Linked DNA regions of Homo sapiens: all the other regions are linked to region 1. The links are contacts of gene promoters, found by promoter capture Hi-C in blood cells and fetal thymus (Javierre and others, 2016). All regions are on one chromosome and are shown on one strand. Each heading gives the region's core, a stretch centred on a gene start or on the middle of the fragment in contact. The rest is flanking DNA. Distances are from core to core; before and after follow the strand shown. Region 1 holds the start of CUL2 (cullin 2). Region 2 overlaps CCNY (cyclin Y). Region 3 overlaps CCNY (cyclin Y). Region 4 overlaps CCNY (cyclin Y). Region 5 overlaps CCNY (cyclin Y). Region 6 overlaps CCNY (cyclin Y). Region 7 overlaps PARD3 (par-3 family cell polarity regulator).

The links. The method cuts DNA at HindIII sites, captures the fragments that hold promoters and counts their contacts. A CHiCAGO score of 5 or more calls a contact.
Region 2: a fragment that was not itself captured here is called in contact with the fragment with the promoter of CUL2 in region 1 in 10 of 17 cell types (neutrophils, total CD8 T cells, total CD4 T cells and 7 more); the score reaches 19.9 in neutrophils.
Region 3: a fragment that was not itself captured here is called in contact with the fragment with the promoter of CUL2 in region 1 in 1 of 17 cell types (neutrophils); the score reaches 5.1 in neutrophils.
Region 4: a contact is called between a fragment that was not itself captured here and the fragment with the promoter of CUL2 in region 1, in 9 of 17 cell types (activated CD4 T cells, total CD4 T cells, naive CD8 T cells and 6 more). The highest score is 14.3, in activated CD4 T cells.
Region 5: a contact is called between a fragment that was not itself captured here and the fragment with the promoter of CUL2 in region 1, in 4 of 17 cell types (activated CD4 T cells, total CD4 T cells, naive CD4 T cells and 1 more). The highest score is 10.3, in activated CD4 T cells.
Region 6: a contact is called between a fragment that was not itself captured here and the fragment with the promoter of CUL2 in region 1, in 3 of 17 cell types (activated CD4 T cells, neutrophils and total CD8 T cells). The highest score is 6.8, in activated CD4 T cells.
Region 7: a contact is called between a fragment that was not itself captured here and the fragment with the promoter of CUL2 in region 1, in 1 of 17 cell types (fetal thymus). The highest score is 5.8, in fetal thymus.

Annotation. Positions count from the first base shown.
Region 1 is chr10:35,088,787-35,091,795 of GRCh38, forward strand. It overlaps CUL2 (cullin 2), which reads right to left and starts at 1,555. Exons shown (of 21, transcript NM_003591.4): 1 at 1,393-1,555. RefSeq lists silencers at 1,326-1,455, 1,476-1,675, 1,729-1,917 and an enhancer at 1,836-1,975. The HindIII fragment of the contact is 6,346 bases long and covers 1-1,891 here.
Region 2 is chr10:35,490,279-35,493,287 of GRCh38, forward strand. All of the region lies in intron 2 of CCNY (cyclin Y), which reads left to right. Among named protein-coding and RNA genes, the nearest start is that of GJD4, 110 kb to the right of the region's middle. The HindIII fragment of the contact is 6,610 bases long and covers 1-3,009 here.
Region 3 is chr10:35,468,979-35,471,987 of GRCh38, forward strand. The region is part of intron 1 of CCNY (cyclin Y); the gene reads left to right. Among named protein-coding and RNA genes, the nearest start is that of CCNY, 130 kb to the left of the region's middle. The HindIII fragment of the contact is 9,869 bases long and covers 1-3,009 here.
Region 4 is chr10:35,440,003-35,443,011 of GRCh38, forward strand. The region is part of intron 1 of CCNY (cyclin Y); the gene reads left to right. Among named protein-coding and RNA genes, the nearest start is that of CCNY, 100 kb to the left of the region's middle. The HindIII fragment of the contact is 1,722 bases long and covers 578-2,299 here.
Region 5 is chr10:35,419,433-35,422,441 of GRCh38, forward strand. The region is part of intron 1 of CCNY (cyclin Y); the gene reads left to right. Among named protein-coding and RNA genes, the nearest start is that of CCNY, 84 kb to the left of the region's middle. The HindIII fragment of the contact is 5,790 bases long and covers 1-3,009 here.
Region 6 is chr10:35,398,857-35,401,865 of GRCh38, forward strand. The region is part of intron 1 of CCNY (cyclin Y); the gene reads left to right. Among named protein-coding and RNA genes, the nearest start is that of CCNY, 64 kb to the left of the region's middle. The HindIII fragment of the contact is 8,358 bases long and covers 1-3,009 here.
Region 7 is chr10:34,769,387-34,772,395 of GRCh38, forward strand. All of the region lies in intron 1 of PARD3 (par-3 family cell polarity regulator), which reads right to left. Among named protein-coding and RNA genes, the nearest start is that of PARD3, 44 kb to the right of the region's middle. The HindIII fragment of the contact is 3,192 bases long and covers 1-3,009 here.

The sequences.
Region 1 (3,009 bases), core at 305-2,804:
AGCAATTGAAAAGGAATTTTTCCCACGCTATGTGCATGCACATTGTAGAAATGTTCCCCCAACTCATAAACAGCAATTGAAAAAAACAAGTAATTCAAAACACTGTGGGCTGGGCGCAGTAGCTCAGGCCTGTAATCCCAGCACTTTGGGAGGCCTAAGCAGGCGAATCACCTGAGGTCAGGAGTTCAAGACCAGCCTGGCCAACATGGTGAAACCCCATCTCCACTAAAAATACAAAATTAGCCGGGCATGGTGGCGCATGCCAGTAATCCCAGCTACATGGAAGGCTAAGGCAGAAGAATTGCTTGAACCCGGGAGGCGGAGGTTGCAGTGAGCCGAGATCGCACCACTGCACTCCAGCCTGGGTGACAAGAGCAAAACTCCATCTCAAAACAAAAAAACTGTGTACTTCTCTTATCTCACGCGACTCTTTTGGAAGGATCTTCCAGATACTGTATAAGGGCAAAAGAAGCAAAGTATAGCTCATTTGTTCATGTGTCTGTCTTGAAAAGGAATGTAAGATTCTAAAGGGTAGGCAACAGTGTTTTGAATGTTTTTAAGCGATTATTATGTAGTCAGTTGTCAATCAGATCAAAGTGATTATTTCCGATACTTTACTACGAAGGTAGGCTTGGCCAGGTCTAGTTCAAAGACGTTTATGTTGAACAGTCACAATCTATAGCGAACGTTAATATTTTGCATCTTATCTTCAAAATTTAAACGCCCAGGGTACTGGCCTTCAACTGTTAATATTAATCCATGGGGCAAAGATGTGGACTTAACATTAATAACAGTCTGCAATTCACAGATGTTTTATTTGCATGCACGTAATGGTAGGGAATGGTCCAGACTCTCTAGAGGGTAAGCAAGTGCTAGAAAGCGTGTGAGGATCTTATTTCACCAGACCCTAAGGGTTGAGACAAGAAGTCTAGCATGCACGTAGGATACTCCTCCCCAAAGCTATCAATCTTTGCAGTCTGCGGAAACAAAAGTGAAAACACTCGGGGTAAGGATGCATGAGATGCCCCCCCCCACACACACACACAAACACACAGAGTTGTGTATTCGTGTGAGCACGTAAATATGTAGAAGAATACACGCACTCTCACCTTCCCTCCTTCGAAGGAAAATGGGGCCGCGGGAGAGGCGGCCAAGATCGGGTTGGGGAGGCCCGGGATCCAGTCCAGGGGGTGGCAGGGCTTACGGGTCAGCGCTCTGGGGAGCCGAGGTCACTTACAGGATACCATCTTCCCGGGCCTCCCCCTTTCATCCCTCTCCCCACACCTCGTCGCCCCCAACTCCTCTCCTCCGCCCCAGCCCCGCCACCCATTAACCGGGAAGGGAAGTTTCCCGGCGCCTGCAGCCCGGCTCCCCGACCCTCAGCGGGGTTACCTTCTGCAGAAGCAGGGCAAGGGGCAGGGGACAAGGGGAGGGGGAGGCAGCCCGAAGGAGTGAAAGACGAAGCCCCGGCGAGGAAGGTGGGCGGAGGCGGCGGCGGCGGCGGCTGTCAGCTCGCGTTCCCCTGCTCACAGCGCTGCCATTACTGTGCGCCGAGGCCGCCTCCCCGGCCGGCCGCCGCCACCGGCCCCGGAGACGCGGGGGGTGGGGAGCGAAGCCCGGGGAGCCCGCGCGCCGACACTCACCTGTCTCCGCGAGGAAAGACAGCAAAGTCCAAGGCCGCCGCCGCTCCCCGGCGGGACAGGGGCGGTAGGGAGGGGGGGAAAGGGGAGAAGGACGGGCCGATCACGGGATCCGTAAAACAATCGTCCTCCTCTGCCTCCGGCTTTGCCCAACACACACCCTCCGGTCTCCTTCTTCCGCTGCTGCCAAATCCCCCCCGCCACCCGGAAAGCAATGGTACAGGCCGCGTTACGGCAAGCGCAGGGAGCCAAGCTTCGTGTGATTGCGAAAGGCCACGGAAATTAATATTCCAAGTGATTCCTTGCTGGGCTTGCTGTCAATGAGGCAATTGCGGTTCGCTGAGCTGATGGACACAGTACCCACCCACTACCCGTTAGTTCAGGGACTGCTAATAACAATATGTTGGAATGGTGCTTTCAACAGAAGTATGTTTTCCTTGTTTCAGACCTATGTGAATATCCTAAGACACCACAATCCTCTTGCCACACACTTCCATGGGCTTTGCAAATGATCAAAAATAAATTAGCAAAACTACTTTTCCTCTCTGACAAACTCTTTTTCTTGTTAGTTTTTATCTACAGAGAATTTCTTGGACATACATGTATTTTCGATAAAGAAACTTCACATCTTTTTCACTAATACCCCACCTTCACCAAGCCCCAAGCCTATCAGTTTGAAGGGTTTTCCTCCCTTGGAGTTTTAAACGGTAAAGCTGATAAAAATATAGAATTACTCATCACCTCCTCATATATGCAGGGCCACAGAGGAACAAAAGCCCGGCCTTAGTGCTTTTTGCCTTTCATATCCTCAAGAGCTCACCATCAGGGTCTTGTTCATTTATACGATTCAGCAAGCTTTTCCCTCCCATCCCTTCCTTCCAAACTGCACGAACCCTTCAAGGCCCATTTAAAACCCTGCCTCCAGACCTGATCAGTCCCTAGAGCCTTCCTCCTCTTCTAATCTGCTTCTCTTGGTACTTGAAGTCTCTACTCTTTATTTCAGTAAAGGGTTTTTATATACGAAATTCAATCCAACAGTATGTTTCCATTATGTGACCTTTTTTTCCTCCCATGTTTTCCCCCTTTTAATCTAGTGATTCTCAAAGTGTGGTCCCCAGACCTCTGGAAATCCCTGAGACCTTTACAGAGGTCATAAGGTTAACAACTAGTTTGTTAACAATGCAATATGTCTGGTCCTTTTTTTTTTTGGATACAGAGTCTTGCTCTGTCACCCAGGCTGGAATGCAGTGGCGGCACAATCTCAGCTCACTGCAACCTGCACCTCCCGGGTTCAAGTGATTCTCCTGTCTCAGCTTCCCGAGTAGCTGGTATTACAGAAGCCCGCCACCACACCCGGCTAATTTTTTGT
Region 2 (3,009 bases), core at 360-2,859, 400 kb after region 1:
AATCAGTCTTACATTATTTTTAATTATGTATTTCTTTATTTGTATTTTTGCCTATCACACCTGTTTCTTAGAATCAGTCTTACCTTCTGTGAGAAAAAGTCTGATTTTATTTTTGCAATTCACATAACATGTTAATGTGCATGCCCATGGCTGCCTTTGTGCTTCTGATCATAAATGGCCAGACAGGCGCAGGGGAGTGCACACCTAGGCAGCAGTCTGCGGTCCACTGCACCTTCCCGCCCTTCCCTGTGTCCTCCTGCACTGCTGCCCTCGCTGCTCCCCGAGCTTTGCTTGGGGGTCTAACGCCTGAAGAGGCAGGTCCTGTTGGAAACCATCCTCACTGTGATATCTGTAAACCCAGAGCCGGAAGTCTTTCCAGCACCCCTCCAGGGAAAGTCCATAGGACAAAGAAGCCTCCAGGTTGTGCCACAGGAGGCTGGCAGGAGATGAAAGACACATGAACCTGGATTGAAGGTGGTTACCACAACCCCAGTGGCTGCTTGTCTTTCCATCTGGTGCCCCTGGAGGTTTTCACACCAGGTCAGTGCAGGCCTCAGCTCAGGTGTGCCTGCCTTTCTTTGTGAAGTTGTGAGGGAGGAAGGTGGTTCCTGCATCACACCTCAGCCCATTTGAAGGTCTCTTTGAATACTTGGTTTGAGGACCTTTGCTCTAGTCTAGCCCTAAGTTACTTGTGACAGACCATTTCAATAAAAGAATTGCAAAAACTACTACCTCACCTGTCTTTCCCTCTAGTTTGGGGTGTGTGGAGGAGGGTGGGTACTCAAAAGCCATGAGTAGTTGAGTGTGCAGACAGGTCCATTTGTGCGTGCTGGGCTGCCCATGCCCTTGCCAACCTGTGGCCACCCCAGTGGCAGGGAACCAGCCTCTGGCCTCCAGTTAGGCAAGGCTCTAGGACCCAGCTCTGCGTTAGGCCTTTGTCTTCCATTAGTGGGATTTATAGTCACATAATCTCTTGGGTCATAACTTCCTATAAATTGACAATGGACACACCTGTCTCCTTAGAAGATTGCTCTCCTGAAGCAGTAGGGTGAGTCCCAGGCACACAGCGAGCCCTCAGCAATGTCTGCTCATTGACTTGTGATGTAACAGGTACTTTGGGATCCTCACTGGGGATCTCTTGAGCCAGCCTCTTCCAGGACCCCTGGCAAGAGGAGCCACCCCGTCCTGCCAGTGTAAGCATGTGTTCCAGAGATGTTTTCTGCCGCCTGGTAGACAGCCAGTCTGGAAATCGTACATGCTCCTTGGGGTTGGCATGTCCAAATCAGAAGTCAGCGTCTTTCCTCTCCTGCCAGCTTCCTCTCCCTTGTCACCTAATTTTTTATTTATTTATTTATTTTTTTGAGACGCTCTGTCGCCCAGGCTGGAGTGCAGTGGCACGATCTCGGCTCACTGCATGCTCTGCCTCCCGGGTTCACACCATTCTCCTGCCTCAGCCTCCCGAGTAGCTGGGACTACAGGTGCCTGCCCCCACACCTGGCTAATTTTTTGTATTTTTAGTAGAGATGGGGTTTCACCATGTTAGCCAGGATGGTCTCGATCTCCTGACCTCGTGATCCCACCCGCCTCGGCCCTCCAAAGTGCTGGGATTACAGGTGTGAGCGACCACGCCCGGCCTCATAACCTAGTTTTTAAGAATAAACCCATTGCTTGTCTGGGTCTTAATGGGCACCCCCAGAGTCCTGTAGTCAGTGTCTAAGCTGCACCTATATGCCCTGAATTTCTCCCATCCTCCCCTTCCTGCCTGGACTCTCGTTTCCTCCTTCCTCACCCAGTCTGTGGCGAGCCCCTTCCCAGTCTCCTGCCTCCATCATGTCCTCTCTCAAACCTTTCTTCCACCTGTCTGCAAGTGGAGCTTCTCTTAGGCCCCTCCCTGCCTGACCGTCTGTCTCCTCACCACTGGAACAGTGAGACACCAGCACACACACAGAGCCCTTTTCACCCTTCTTGTGGGTCCCCTCCCCTCCAGGCCTGAGAGGCCATCATCTGTGGCATGCTCTGCCCGCAGCACCTGCCCTCTGTCCATGCTGGCCCAATGGCTGCCTCATAGGTGATGCTTCCCTGTTTCTCTTCATTCCATTGATTGTGATAGACACCTTTCCTTGGCTGGAACACCTCTGAAATCAGCACAGTCAGTGACTTGCCAAAATTTAATTGGCAGCATTTTTTTTTTCTTTCTTAGTGACACATAGAGTAATGGTTTATCAGAAAATCAGTGGCATTACGTTCAGTGCAGTTTGCATATTCCTCTGTGTGGAGGTGATTATTTTTGTGGTATAGAAATAAATAGCTTTCTGTTTATCTGCTGGATTGCATCTTGCTCATGGATAGGAACTGTGCCTTTCACATTCCGCAGTCTCTGCAGTGGCTAGCACATAGAAGAAACTCACAAGCATAGGGGAATGAAGGAATGAAGGCAGGGCATCATGACCCACCCTGGGCAGACTTGCCGTGGCACGGTGGCAGTCTTCCCTGAGTAGTGGCTTTCTGTTTTGTGTTGCAGCTTTACCTTCTCCTACCTTCCCTAGCTTTGTTAGAAAACGACACATCCATTATTTAGGGACAGGAGGATGTAGGTTTTTTTAGGCTCAGGTGGTGTATTTGGGCTTTCCTATTCCGGGTCAGAACTCAGCATGACCGTGCCACCCTCAGGCCAGCTCTCCCCTCTCCCCTCTGCAGTCTTCTCTTGAGGTGCATGGGGGGGGGAGGGCAGGTATCAGGTTTCTTGGCCAGGCCTCGCCCTGTAAGTCAGAGGCGCTCTTTGGGTGCCGTGGCTCACTTTTCTTGGGTGCATCACCTGACTCCAGTATTTCATCCCTTGGGCTTTCCAGTGTGGAGAAAGCTGCTGATATAGTACAAACTCAGATGAAATCATTTAGACCCAGAATGTCAGTTTTCTCCGTACCTTTTATCATATCCTCTCTCCTGACCTGCGCTGTTCCCAGTCAGAACATTGCTCAGTGAGCACAGATCCAGAATAGAGGTTAGCAG
Region 3 (3,009 bases), core at 376-2,875, 380 kb after region 1:
AAAGTGTCAGTTCCAACTCCTGTGTTATATCCTGTCCTGCAGGAACGTTAAAATAATAGTGTCTTCAAACCAAGATACTTCTGAGAGTAAAGGGGGTTAGAATTCTTTATTATGCCAGATCACTGGTGTGAACCCGCATGTGTGTCACCTTAGTCAAAACCCAAGACCAGCTCACACAACTGGATAGCCCCTGTCCTGCCACAGACTTCAGTTCTCTCTTTGATTCGGGCCTTAGGCCGTTGACCCTGCTTTCTTGCCACACTTATAGGCATTTAAAAGGCTGTATTATATTTTAACTCACATTACAAAGTGCATGTAGCATGAGAGCTTTTAGGTTATCTGGTCTGTGTATTGGCAGAATAATCTGTCTTTAGTCTTAACATTAGCATCTTTATCTCCTTGATTAATCTTAAGATAGAATATTAGATACATTAAGATAGAAAATTAGAAATAGGACAGCAGAGAGGAACTGGGGAGGGAAGAAGGGAAAACGGAAACAGTTATAGCTAGGAAAAGAGAAGGAGGAGAAGAGAGACTGAGAGATGGGTTGGAAAGAGGAAGATGGAGAGGCAGAACGGGAGATGGAGAGATGGACAGACAGGGAGATGGAGAGACAGACAGACAGGGCAGTGGAGAGACAGATAGACAGGGGGAGATGGAGAGTCAGACAGGGCAATGGAGAGTCAGACGGGAGATGGAGAGACAGGGAGAAGACAGGGAGATAGGGCACTGGAGAGACAGATAGGGAGATGGAGAGACAGGGAAATGGGGAGACAGGAAGATGGAGAGACAGACAGGGAGATAGGGCACTGGAGAGACAGATATGGAGATGGAGAGATAGGGAGATGGAGAGACAGGGCGATGGAGAGACAGACAGGAAGATGGAGAGACAGGGAGATAGATAGGGCAATGGAGAGACAGACAGGGAGGTGGAGAGACAGACAGGGAGATAGGGCAATGGAGAGACAGACAGGGAGATGGAGAGACAGACAGGGAGATAGGGCAGTGGAGAGACAGACAGGGAGATGGAGAGACAGACAGGGAGATAGGGCAGTGGAGAGACAGACAGGGAGATGGAGAGACAGATGAGATAGGGCAATGGAGAGACAGAGAGATGGAGAGACAGGGAGATGGAGAGAGAAAGATAGGGCGATGGGGAGACAAGGCAGTGGAGAGACAGACAGGGAGATGGAGAGACAGAGAGGGAAACAGAGATAGGGCAATGGAGAGACAGGGAGTTGGAGAGACAGACAGGGAGATGGAGAGACAGACAGGGCGATGGAAAGACGGACAGGCAGGTGGAGAGACCGACAGAGGGAAGGAGAGGCAAACGGGGAGATGCAGAGATGGACAGGGAGATGGAGGGACAGACAGACAAACAGAGCAGATGACTGAGGGCTGGATGTGTGTGCACAGAGAGCTGCACACAGAGACACATCCATTCAGTTAGCAACCCACTTGCGGAGAGACTGCCCTGGAGGCCCACACATGTAGACGTGTGGACACAGAGACACACACTTGCAAAGACATACACGGAGATCACCTGCAGGGGCACCAGTGGCTGAAAGAGAGTGAAAATAGGAAACAACTAAATATAAGTGTGTTATGATAGTCCAGAAAATAAACTTGAAGTCAGTGGGAGTAGAAAAGATGGCTTTAGGTGGGATTAACCAGAACTGCAGTAGCAGCACTTGGCTGCGGCAGCCACAGCAGGAGCTGTTGTTCTCGTGGGAATGCTGATGTGGGCTGCTGGGCTCAGGCTTCCCTGGTGACAGCCTCCTGGAGCAAACCAGCCTGGTCAGCTCCTGATTTCATCCTGTTGACACTAACAAATGGAGATAATCACTGATTGTGAGGCAGTGGCAGGGACAATAATAGCAACAAAAGAAACAATCTGATTTAAAATTAACAGGCTTTGTTGATTTCATAATTGCCTCCCACATCATAGCCAGATTTGGAAATGTGACTACCTAAAATTGAAATTAGGGGTTTGAGATTTTAACCATATCAAATATTGCTCAAAAGACAGGAAATAGAACTAGTGATGTCTTCGGAGGGTAACTGTGGGGCTGTACCACAGTTGGCCTCCCAGTTGAAACTCACTTTCTGTGCATCTTGAAGTTCCAGAACCTATCAAGGAATCACAGAACCCTTGATTCCTTTGGGCTCTGCTCACTGACACTGTCTAGACCTAAGTGGACAGCCCATCTTGTGGAGATGATTTATTGGAGTGATTATCAGTTTGGGGCGTGGCAGTGCAGAGAAAGGGGGATGCGAGGGGCTTGCGAGGGGGAGGGGATAGTTTGACTTTACAGGCTTGCTTTGGCGCCTCCTCTCCATCCAGTGCTGTTTAGGTCTTACTGTGCTTTTCTGCTTTACTTTTTACTAGTTTTTCAGACCATTAATGATAGCTTATGATGGCTGCTTTTCTTAGCCACTATCTTATTACCTGGATCCTTTATAACACTGGAAGGTAAACTTGGTGCTGGTTTAAAAGCCAAGATGAGCAATTGTGGATCACTGTTACTGTGACATCTGTGGAAAAGACTGAAGAAAATGAGGTTGACCAGTATAAGAGAATACTGCCGAATTAAACTGTGCCACATGCCGTTTGATTTATCTTTAGTTTTGAATAAAGGCATTGTATTTTACTTTGTGCTCAGCTGACACATGGACTGAAAGCAGTGTGACCGAACACTCAGTTGTCACCTCAGAGTCTGGCAGGAGGCCCTTAGAATAACCATTCTTTGAATATTTTAATTCAGCTGTGTGTCTTAATAGGTATCAACATCATAAACAAAAAATAGGCTAAGACTCTGCTTCCTAAATATTAGATTGAAGTCAGCTCAGGGGATTCCATGACATTCCTTAAAACTGCCTTTTCCTCTAAAGCATTACTTCCTCAGGTTAATTTATGGATTATCTTGCCATTCTTTTAGGAGGTAGGAGACTCTAAGTCAGGAGTATGCAACACCAAACTTTTAAACATCAATTTCAAGCCAGCACTCC
Region 4 (3,009 bases), core at 189-2,688, 350 kb after region 1:
ACTTGGCCTTCTTGGACCTAGAGGTGTTGGGGCATCTCATTACCACTTCACAATGGCAAAAGTTTAGGCCTCACACTCAGCCTTTGTTGGTGTGGATGGGACTGGAGCCACAGTCGTTTTTGGCGCCTGTGGAGTAGAGTGGTTATTATCTAAAAATGTTCTGTCTTGCTAGACAGGCTCCTTTCTGTTCTTTGGACAGAGAGAGCAGGTGTTCTTTGGTCTGTACCCTTCATGTTTGCAGATTGTCTCCTTCTTCAGCTTTTATCTGAGATAAGTGAGGCAGAAAGGAAACTCAGGGAACTCACCCCTGTGCTGTTTCTCATGTCCTTGTGTCCCTGGCCACTCTGGAGCAGAGGTTAGCAGAGGTTCTCTGGAAAGGGCCAAGTGGTCTCTGAACTGCTCAACTCTGCTGTTGAACCTCAGAGGCAAGCGTAGATGAGATGTAAGAGAACAGGCCTGGCTGCTCCATTTCAGCTTTGCTTATGAAAACAGCCTGGCCTGGATCTGCCTACCCTCCTCCAGACCCTTGCTTCCCACCCCTCCTAGTGCTGACTCTTTGCTAGATGTCTTCAGAATAAGCTTCAAGTTTTCTTCACTGCAGCGTATTCTGCTGTTTTAGACCCCTGTCCGGGGCACAGCTTTGTGGTGGTGATCACCTGTGGGAGAGAACTTCAGAATCAGCTCCTAGAAAGAGTGATTCTGGGCAGCAGAAAGGACGGAGCCTAGAGCAGTTTCCAAAGTAGAATGAAGTGTAATTGCACACGTGGGACTCCAGTCCCTGCTTATCTTTACTTCTGAGAAGCATTACATACATTTGTTAATTATGCTACAAGAGAGGTAGTCTTAACTCATAAACTGAGCTGAAAGAAGTCTAGATTTTCACGTGTCATTGCTATTTTAAGACATCTCTTTTCACACATCATTTTGTTTTAACAAGTGTACCTGGGAAGTTAAGGATGGGTGCTCTTATTTCCATTATATTGCTTTGGGTTTTTCTCTAGAAGAGAGAGTATACAATTGCCAATTCAGAAGTGATTCTATATTGTTAGCACCACTTATAAGACTCCATTTGCCTGAAATGGAAAGGAAGAGTCCCATAAGGAGCTAGAATGGGGCCCCATGTGGTATGAGGGTCAGGGAGAGTCTGTAGCACTGACAGGTGTTTTGGCCTCTTCTGAATACCGCCTTGTTTTACCATGTTGCAGAATGGAACCATTGTAAGCCAAGAACAAGTTGGCCTTTAAACTGTTGTTAGCAAAGAAGCAGAAGCAGTCTTCTTTGAAATGACTTTCATTTTGGAAGGAACAGAGACAAGATGAATAAGAGCTTTCCCTGATGTTAAGTGTTTGTGGCCTTAGAGAGTGGTACAGAGTTTCCTATGTATCTGCATTGTGTACGTTTCTTGTTTTCTTAATTTTAGGGCCCTATTATTACTATGCTTTAGCTTAGCAATTGGGCTTTTCAATGGAAAAAGCGGTAGGAGGCTGGGCGCAGTGGCTGCGAGGCCGAGGCGGGAGGATCACTTGAGCTCAGGAGTTCGAGACTGGCCTGGGCAACATGGGCGAAACCTCATCTCAACTAAAAATAAAAAAGGAAATAGCCAGGGATGGTGGTGTGTGCCTGTAGTCCTAGCTACTTGGGAAGCTGAGGTGGGAGGATTGCTTGAGCCCAGAAGACGGAGGTTGCATGAGCTGAGATTGTGCCACTGCACTCCAGCCTGGGTGACAGAGTGAGGCCCTGTATGAAAATAGAAAAGAAAAAGCAGTAGGTTATTAGCATAAACTTGATAAGAGTTCATGCTGGTGTATCTTATTTTAAGGTGTAGATGTCTTTAATAAAGTTCATTTCATTAAATGAAGTTAATTACGTATTAATTGTAAAATAAAAATGTGTTTCTCTGGAAAACAAATTTGGCTGTATGATTTAAAATGATCATACTTAAGAGAATACCCATTGTTGTAAAGTCTGTATGAAAGGAAAAGTTCCCATTTATAGTTTTAGTTAAAACGATGACATAATTTGAAAGAACTTAGATTCATTGTTGCATTTTAAATAATAGCTTAAAAGTCCTAGTAAAGCAATAGTGAAAGTGTACCTGGGTATAACACATGGGCTGGCTAGAAATGTCACTTAGCCTGCATGACCCACAGAGTGTTGCCATAACTCCTGATGTGTAGGGCCCTGTTTGCGTTGGAGTGATGCAGATCTCTGAGGCAGTGCTGGTTGCCCTCCAAGGGCTTATGGTGGTGGTTGGAGAAATAGAACTAAATAAGGGAAAATTAGGTAACCTTGAATGCTAAGCTTAGAACTTTGAAGCAGAAGCAATGTGAGTCATTAAAAGGACATAAAATTAACTCACAGTTTATTAGCCATCTGCTGTGCATCAGGCTCATAGTGTGGTGGGAGAGATGGCTTTATAATTGAAAGGTAGTGAAATAATGAGACCGGAGACTCATACAAATTGCCTGGATAGGAGGTACTTTGTTGGGAGTTTAGGGTGGTCTACCTGCAAGACTTGATATTTGAAAATAGTTTTTAAAAACAAGTAGGAGTTTGCTTGTAGGATGAGAACTTTTTAGTTAAGGGAAAACTGTTTGAAATACTGAGATATGAAACAGCATGATGTATTTGGTGAGTAGAAGACATTTTCATGTTTGGAACATATAGAGTATGAGTAATGAATTTGGGAGTATGAATAAAGAAACTACTGGGGATGGCTACGGGACGGGCTATTGATGTGGTTTGTGTTATTTTCTCCCTTTATTTCATATACAGTCGTGTCACTTAATGAAGGTGGTATGTTCTAAGAAGTGCTTTCTGAGAAATGTCTCATTAAGTGATTTCGTCATTGTGTGAACATGAGAGAGTGTACTTACCCACAAATCTAGATGGTCTAACCTACTACACATGTAGGCTGCATAGTATAGCCTGTTGCTCCTAGGCTACAAACTTGTACAGCATCTGACTGGACTGAATACTTTAGGTAATTTGAACACAGTGGTTAAGAAC
Region 5 (3,009 bases), core at 252-2,751, 330 kb after region 1:
AGGCTGACGGGAGAAAAAGTAATCCAGGTATGACCCAGGGTATGTGCTAGGGTGGTGGCCATGGACCATGAGGGAAGGACTGGGTTGCATTAGACCGTTCCTTTTTTTTTTTTTTTAGCAATCTGGAGGATTTTTAAGGTGATAAGTTATCGGTCTGAGGAAGTTATTGGATAGCTAATTTGGAGATAATTCAAAACTAAACCCCATTAGATATACAGCTCATTTTAGTTGCATATCAACTCATTTGATATACAACTCAATTAGTCCTACAGATTGATTTTAACTGCTTTATCTCATGTCTCTCTTTATATACGTTTACGTAAATATATGTGTGCATTTATGTGTGTGTGTGTGGTATATAATACTTTAGGTTTTGATACTTTTAGGTCATTCATACAGCATTGTGACTGCTGAAATTAGGAAATAGGCTGACAGATTACTAATTTCTAGGCAAACTTTATAATTAAAAGAAGAAATAGATATGGCTGTAATTTTTTTTTTTTTTTTTTTTAGTACAGTTCAAAATAAATGGTGCCCTTTGGTCCTGCAGATGGTTTCTTTCTTATCTAGTTTTTTCTCTACATGAAAAGTTTTGCTGACTCCTGTTCTTAATTTTCTATTGTTCTTAATTTAGGTCCTATGTCTGTGCTTGCCTGATTTTTCCTGTGACTATCTTTTACAGATAAAATAGTGGAAGAATCATCATGTATATAAGTTCAAGAAGTTTTCATTAAGCTGCTAATTTCCTAAAGAAATCTGGATCATGGTGCATCCTTTGTTTGTGTGTGGGAGGATATAGTGATACTGAATGAATCATGTCTTGCTCTGTAGCAAGAGGAATATTTGGTAAAGTTGATGTTGTTTGCTTTGGTGAGCAGTGGAGGTGGAGTGGGATCCGACCCCAGTGGCCCTAAAAGCAGCGAGCCCTAGAAACCAGGCCCACCTGGGTTTTCCTGGCTCTCTCTCACTTGTGCCCTCTTGTTTCTCATGAAAATGTGAAGCTGCTGTGATATTTTGGGGTCTCTGATTTGGCACAGGTAGCTTTTCAGTGACTTTGCAACTACTCTTTCTGCATATCTTCAGTTTGAGATGAACATGTTTGTGCAACTCAGCAACTCAGCACCTGATGGGGATTCTGGAGAGTGCACTGTGGGATCTAGGATCACCTTACCCAGTTCCCAATGACCAATTCATGAGGAAGTCGCAATCTCACACCAGAATCTCACTGGAAAACAAAATCAGACTCTCACCTAAAAAGTAGGGACTGAATATGAAGTAAACTTTTTTAAAGCAAATATGTTTTCAAACCGCAAAAACAGATGCTTTCTTTTGGCAGTTTTGCTCATCAAACCTAAGCTGAATGTGAACGGAGACTAATTTTTAACTGTTAATTCACAGCCTAAATGGCAATGAGTCTGAATTCTAATTTCAAAATCTTATTTGAACTCTGTGTTTGGCTGACTGAAGTGAAAAATGTATTGTTGTTTACTGATTCAGAATCATACCCTGCAGCATTTTAAGCCAATTTTGAGCAAGTCATGGCCAAGTGTAAATTTGCGTACTTAACATTTATTTGTTAGTCACACAGCCAGCCCAGTGGATAGGCCTGTTTGAAGTCAGGCTGTGTGCACCTATGCCAGTGCCGGCTCTGCTTTGGGGTGGGATTTTGGGTGTAGGACGAGGTTCAAAGGACCTGGCTGAGGACGGCCACACGGGTTGGACAGGCCGCTTCTGGAGAAGCCCACTCAGGTGTTGTTCCTGGATCACCTTTCTAGGCCAAGTGTAAAAGGAGAGGGAATTTCTTTGTTAAATTCATTCCTGGTTTCAGGGCCCTTTTGTTACCTTCTCTTCCACATGAGCTCCCGTCTCTGTGCTGCAGGAAGTTCAGAGGCACGGTTTATCATGGGTGCTTGGCACCACTCTCTCTCTAACTATGTGGATCCTAACTCCAGTCTCCTGATGGTCAGCTTGACGCGGGTTCACTGGATCAGTGCCTTCCAGTCCTGGGCAGGTGCTCTGTTTCTGTTATTCTAGAACCCCCGACCCAGGGAACACAGAGCTTGCTGGTCTGCCTTCATTTTCTCACCTCCAATTTAAGACCAAGTAATTTTATTTTGCCTTCATTTGGTATTTAGAAGCGTCGGGTGGCTTTTGTCAGGGACAGTTTCATGCCTCTCTGGCTTTTGTCCGTGTTGCCTGGTGCTCTTCTAGCTGGCCCTGCTGACTGGAGTCTGTGATGGACTCCCATTTTCTTGAGCTGAGTCACTTGTTTTCCTCCAGGATGCCGTTCCCTACAGCTCATCCTGCTTGTTTTCACTTACTTTCCTGTTTTCTGCCCTTGCTCTTATATCCAGGCCTGTTAGATCTGAATCTAGTCATTCTGCTTTCTCTTCAGAGGTTTCTCTTGACAGTAAATATAAATACAGTAATTTCTGTGGGCCAGATATGGTTCTCAGTGTTGGGTGAATTTTAATTCAGTCTCCGTAACAATCTTAGGTGGATACTCATCTCCATTTTGCAGAGGGGAAACTGAAGCACAGAGAAAGTCACTGCCCCACAGTCATCAGGGTGCCAAGTGGAGGAGTCAGGGTTGAAGTCAGAAAAGCTGGCTCCTGAGCCTGCACTCTTAAATGCTATTCTATATTCTTTTTAAAACATTTTTTTGACTTATTTTGTATTCTATAAATATTTTTGACTCATTTTTCCATCTAATTTTACACCTTTCTATTCTTTTAAAATTTTTTTAAAATTTAAATTTAAAACCTACAGTCGTCAATAAAACATTATTCTATATTCTTGCTGGCTCGTGGCACCTCAGCTGTCTGGAATCTTCTATGTGGCCTCCTTGATCCCGGGATGAGTTAGCTTTTTCATATGATATTCAGCTACAATTCTATATAGGCAGTTGTGTTTTGAAAAAAGCATTGGACTTAGCATTAGATCCGAGCTCCTGGCTGCAGTGCATGACTGATTGTGTGGCCTTGTCTAAGCTCTGTAACCTCTCTGACC
Region 6 (3,009 bases), core at 345-2,844, 310 kb after region 1:
AGGCTATTCTGAGAAGGGGTTTAGCCTGAGAACTGGTGGAGCCTGGGAAGGGATAAGGCCTGCCTTGCCTGACAGAGCTGCCCCTGTGAAGAATCAGACATACGCCGTGCTTGCTTTCCTGGCCTTTCAGCTTGGTATGTCAGTCCCTTATAGCGTAGGCTTGTAGCAGACTCGCTGCAGAAATGCATTTTAAGTTCCAAGCAAATGTACAAATGAACTTTGAGAACCCAACTGACTTGAAAGCATGAGCTGATTGGGTTTCTCACATGGTTTCTTCCCACATTTTATAAAGTTCCTGCTTTTTAACCATGTGTGCTTGACGGTAAGACAACTAAGGGCACTTTGAAAGTGAGGGTGGCATTTTGGATGTTCCTGTTGAGCATGGTGAGGTCGTAGCTCCCTGCTGGGCCGTGGAGGCTGTGGACTGCATGTCTGGCTGCTAACTCTTGGCTTGACTGCCCAGGATGCTTATCCATGTTTGAGGTTACTTCTCGGGGACTGGTGTCTTGGGTGTCTACTCCACTTTTCTGGAAGTCTTTTTACTCCACCACAGAATTTGGGTACTAGTGTGTGAAGTGGTGAGAAGGTGACATGACTTACAGACCAGCCTGCCTGCCAGGTGGCCGACACAGGACACAACGCTGTTTAATTCAAGGTGTGAAGGGAGGCACAGGCTATTCTGCTTCCTCAATTGAAAAGGAGCAGGATGGGTGTGGTGTTTCACGCTGTTAATCCCAACACTTGGGAGGCCAAGGTAGGGGGTTTGCTTCATGCCAGGAGTTCAAGACCAGCCTGGGCAACATAACGAGAGTCTGTCTCTACAAAAATAAACATAAAAGATAAGGGGTTATCTCTCTTCTGCAGTAGATCTTTTATGTGCGGAGTACTGATAGGGAGATACATAACTGGACTCCCCCTTAGCAGATCCCAGTAATATGCTCCCTTCAGTGCCATGCGGGGGAGAAAATTCTGACTGTTATGTAGCAAACCCTGAGAAGACTTCTTCCTGTAGATTGGAGATGTTCTGGCTGAACACAGGATTGACCTCCAAACTGGTGTTTTTGTTTTTGGAATAAGATACATGGCTAGTAGAGATAAAGTTCTGTTGACATGGAAGGCTAGGTATGTTCTCCAGTTTACATGGGGACTCAGAAAATATGTGGAGCTGGAGTCTCAGAGAAGGGACATGCAATGGGTCCCTTCTGACACCTGCCTGCTTCCCATCGCAGATCTCCCTTGCCTGATTTTAGCCCTGTGGATAGCTGTTCTGTATATTTGGATTTTCTTCCAGCACCATCTATTTGATGTAGGCAGTTTTATAGAAGAATTCTTTTGGATTTTGTAAAATACTAAAAACGGCTTCTAGTGGTTTGATGAAAGGCATTCTGTTTAGAATCTCCCTAGCACAGTGCAGGGGGCGGCGGGGGTGGTGGGGTGGGGTTGTTTCCCCTCTTGGAGAGGAAGCTGCACAGATCCCTCCCTGTTTTCCCCCTCCCCTCACCTTGGGAATGAATTCCTGGGGCATTTAGGTTGGTCTCTTTGAATTAGCTGGTTCAAAGAGGGAGAGAAGATGCTTCACGTCGTGGAATGGAGCCTTGTAATTGCTGACTTGATTGGATTACCCGAAGTAACCTTTTATGCTTAGTTAAGAATATGCTTTGTTGAGAAAGCATATTTCTGTTTTAAAATATTAGTAATTTTTTCCGACCAACCTCTTCTCTAACCTCCCAACTAAAAGAATTATCAGTAGCTGTTTCCAGAGTTATCTACTGTTCGTTAGATAATTAGGGGCAGGAATATTTATTAATGGTGCAATATGTACTTAAACAGTATTTTTGATGGGGAGAATTCAAGTACATGAAAGCAAGGGCGTGTTTTCTCCTCCCCCGGGATTGTAACTTGACTTCTCTCTCTCTTTTCTAGAGTCTCTTAAAGCATTTTGGAATGGAATGGTTGCTGTTACAAGTTGAGCCATGGTGCAGTTGCTGTGGAAACTCTAGCATGACTTCCCAGACTACTGTGTGTTTTTTAATAGTAGGCACACCATGGCATTGAACTATTATCTTAATGCGCACTTTTTTTTTGAGAGAGAAATAGAAGGTGGTAGAGAAGAGAAGAGACTTTCTCAAATGTACACTTTGTGGAATACTTTACTGAAGTAACTGTGCTCTGAAGGGTGTGCAGCAGCACCTAGGGTGGAGGCCCAGCAACTGGCCGGCCCCGGCCCAGGTGGCAGCTGAGTTTCAGCTCTGTCGAGCATCAGCAGTTCCTATTTTTTGTAGAATTTTATACTGAGCTCTGTGTGCTTAGAATTGTTGGACTCTACCTGCCCTTGTGATAGTTCCTTCTCAGGTTTAATAAGAATAGAATAGGGAGCTGAGAGGCAGAGATGAGTGCAGAGGACTGCGTAGAGGACCATTTGCTTACCAGGAAAGGAAGCTGCAGGTGTGCTCTTTTGTGATAGTGCTGTCTGTCTGTCTGGTTAAATCAGCATGGCTGGAGGTGATACTGAAACCCTGGAATCTGCAGGAGGATCACAAAACACTTTGCCGTCCAGTTCTGATTATCTGCCAGTTTCCTTCTTAAACAGCTATAACAAAAATTTATTTTGCCAGGAGAGAGATCAATTCTAAATTTCCCAAAGAAATTTTCTTTTCTTTTTTTTTTTTCTTAGGAGGTACAAGCAAAGGCATCTTCCTTTCTCCCTCTGAATTTTTTTTTTTTTTGCTCAAAATTAGCAGTAGTAATTGTCTCATGTGTGCGTGTGAAGAGACCACCAAACAGGCTTTGTGTGAGCAACAAGGCTGTTTGTTTCACCTGGGTGCAGGCGGGCTGAGTCAGCAAAGTGTGGTGGGATTATCATTAGTTCTTATAGGTTTTGGGATAGACGATGGAGTTAAGAGCAATGTTTTGGGGGCAGGGGGTGGATCTCACAGAGTACATTCTCAAGGGCGGGGAGAATTACCAAGAACCTTCTTAAGGGTTGGGGAGATTACAAAGTACATTGAT
Region 7 (3,009 bases), core at 257-2,756, 320 kb before region 1:
ATCGACACTGCCAAAAAACACAGTCAGCCCTGAATTCAGCCCACCTCCTCCCATTTATCCTCTCCAGGTGAAAATCATTACTGTAATTTTTTTTTTCTTTGTCTAAAACCATACCTCCCGGCACTTTGGGAGGCTGAGGCAGGTGGATCACTTGAGTCCAGGAGTCCGACACCAGCTTGGGCAACACGGCAAAAACCTGTCTCCATAAAAAATACAAAAATTAGCCTGGCACATAGTGGCACGTTCCTGTAGTCACAGCTACTCAGGAGGCTGAAGTGGGAGGATCACTTGAGCCCAGGAGGTCAAGGCTTCAGTGACCGTGATCATGCCACTGCACACCAGCCTGGGCAACAGAGGGAGAGAGAGACCATGTCTTTAAAAAAACAAACAAACAAACAAACGAACAAAAAAACAAAACAAAAAAAAAAACAAGAAAACCATACCTAGTGTTCTTCAGTTATACACTTTTCTCAAATTCATACACACACACACACAATTATAACCATTTCATACTTACAAGGGGTCCTTTCCTAAGTGACATTAATTCAGAATGTGGGGTTCCCCTTCTCTAGTACACCCTTACCATCAAACCAGCTCCATCTGGTTAAAATACAGCCCCAATTTCCCTGCTCAAAAATTTTCACTGGCTCCCAATGACTTCCTCAGTATTAGCGGATGGCCCTTCATCCAAGACCCTCCGGGACAGTCATTTCCTAGCCTTATCTTCTGCCTGCAGACCACATCACCCAGCCAAATGTTTCCTGCTCCTTAGACACAAGTCACCCTTCATGCTGTTTCAGTCACCATGCCCACACATCTGTCCTTCTATGAAGATCTAGTCAATGCCATCTCCTCCCAAAAGTCTTTCCTGGTTATGGCCAATCCATGATCATCTCACACCTTTGAACTGCAAAAGCACTTCTTACTGCTGATTAAAACTATCACTTTTTGCCTGGTATTCTAAGCATTCTTAAACGGAGATGACACCTCGAGCCCTCGGCTAGCCTGTAAACGCCTTGAGGGCAGCACCTCCAACCAAACACCCTGCACATAAAAGGGTTATCTGGATGTGATGAAGTAACTTGCTCCCAGACTTTTCATCCTAGAGGCCCTGAGGGTCAGGAAGAACTGTAAGTGAAAGGGAGCCATGGGCATTTCTGAGCAGGAAACTCTTGCGCTGGACCTGCATTCTGAGAAAATCAAGGTGTCCCGGCAGAGCAGAAAACGCTAGCCTTGCAGTCAAGACTCACCTGCCACTTACAAGGTATGTGGCCTTGGACAGATGACTCTCCCACCACGGACCACAGGAATCTAATCTAGAACTTTTGCTTTCAGAGTAAATTAGGAAAGGCAGATAAATTGTATCTTAAGTTCCAGTTTCCTAGGGGTATCACCTGCAATGATGTAGAGATTCCAAGACTCCAGACAGGGATGTGCCCTGTTCTCAGTTTCCATGACAGACCCGGAAAGGTGGGCAGCAAAGTGAGGCCATGGATTTGCCAGCCCTGGGCCCCGTGATCTTTAAGGTCTGACATCATTGGATTTGGAAAGGCTTTGAGATGCTCCTCTGGGAACTCAAAACCCTAAAAGTCTACAGGGTTGTTCTGCAACGGAGATGCAGAACTCCCTGTGATGGAAGACATAAAAGGGAAAGACGGAGAGACAAGAGGAAGGAGGGAAGGAAGAATACCAACCTAGTATTAAAATTGGTCACTTGAAAACATGCAAGCCCTGTGATTTTCATCAGGAAACTGCACAAAAAGTAAATTCATAATGTCTTTTAAAAGTTTGCATTCCTCTGATTAAAATGTTCTGGCTTTTGAAAGCAAATGGTGATGCTAAATGTGCTGGGCACAATGGTTACATCAGGAAGAAAGACGGTGCAGCTCAGAACGTGGCTCTGCCTGTCCCTGTGGTTTGACTCAACATTGCTCAGCCTCCCCTCTTCATCTGAGGTAACAGCAACAACTATGCCCCCCACACAGGATCACTGTGAGATTAAAGGGGTCCCACGTGTAGCATAGTGCCTGGCACATGGGGAGCAAAGAGTGAAGGAAGGCTGGCTACAGTTATTATCACCATCATCAAGATCATGACTATGTCATTAGCAGCATATTTCTGTCAGCGTGTTAATGCAAAACAATTTTTTAAAACAGAAAAGTTACACAAAACTGAGAAAGAAAAATGACGTCGGTCAGCCCGACCTAGTCTTACAAAATTACTTGCTGGCTTTTCTTTGGTGTCTGGTTTTGATGCCAGCCAAGGAACAGTTGTCACTAACTCTTTTCAATTTGGTGGTGTATCTTATGAAGCAAGAGGTGCTTAGACAAAGACACACACATGTTCAGGCTGGTATACAGAAAAGAACTGATCTGATAGAAATGAACATCCTGTGCTTTCAGGTAGAAACAAAGGAGTTTTTCAACAGAGTGAGCTCAGATCTTGTATTCTGGAGCTTCAGAGGAATACAGCAAGTTAAAATGACACTTTTTCCTAACAGCTCGCCAGGATAAGCCAATGAAGATGGGTCACACCTGGAAACAACTTCCATCAACCCCTGGCAGGGGTAAAAAGTCATTTGTGGATCCCTTTCACAAAGGTAAATACCAAGGAAGTTCTGCAGTCTGGAAGGTAGAGTGGCCTACATTCATCTCGCCCAACAAGCAGAATGCAAGATGCACCCCTCCAGGGGTTCCTGCTTTCACTCACAAATCCAGAATGCCCTGGTCAGTTCTATAGCAGAAAACCCAAGCTCACTGGGCGTGGTGGCTCACACCTGTAATCCCCGGACTTTGGGAGGCTGAGGCGGGTGGATCACTTGAGCTCAGGAGTTCGAGACCAGCCTGGCCAACATAGTGAAAGCCCGTCTCTACTAAAAATACAAAAAATTAGCAAGGCCCCCTGTAATCCCAGCTACTTCAGCCTGGGTGACAGAGCAAGACTCCATCTCAAAAACAAATAAAAAATAAAAGGACTTGCATTCCTCGAATAAAAGTTATTTTCTCATTA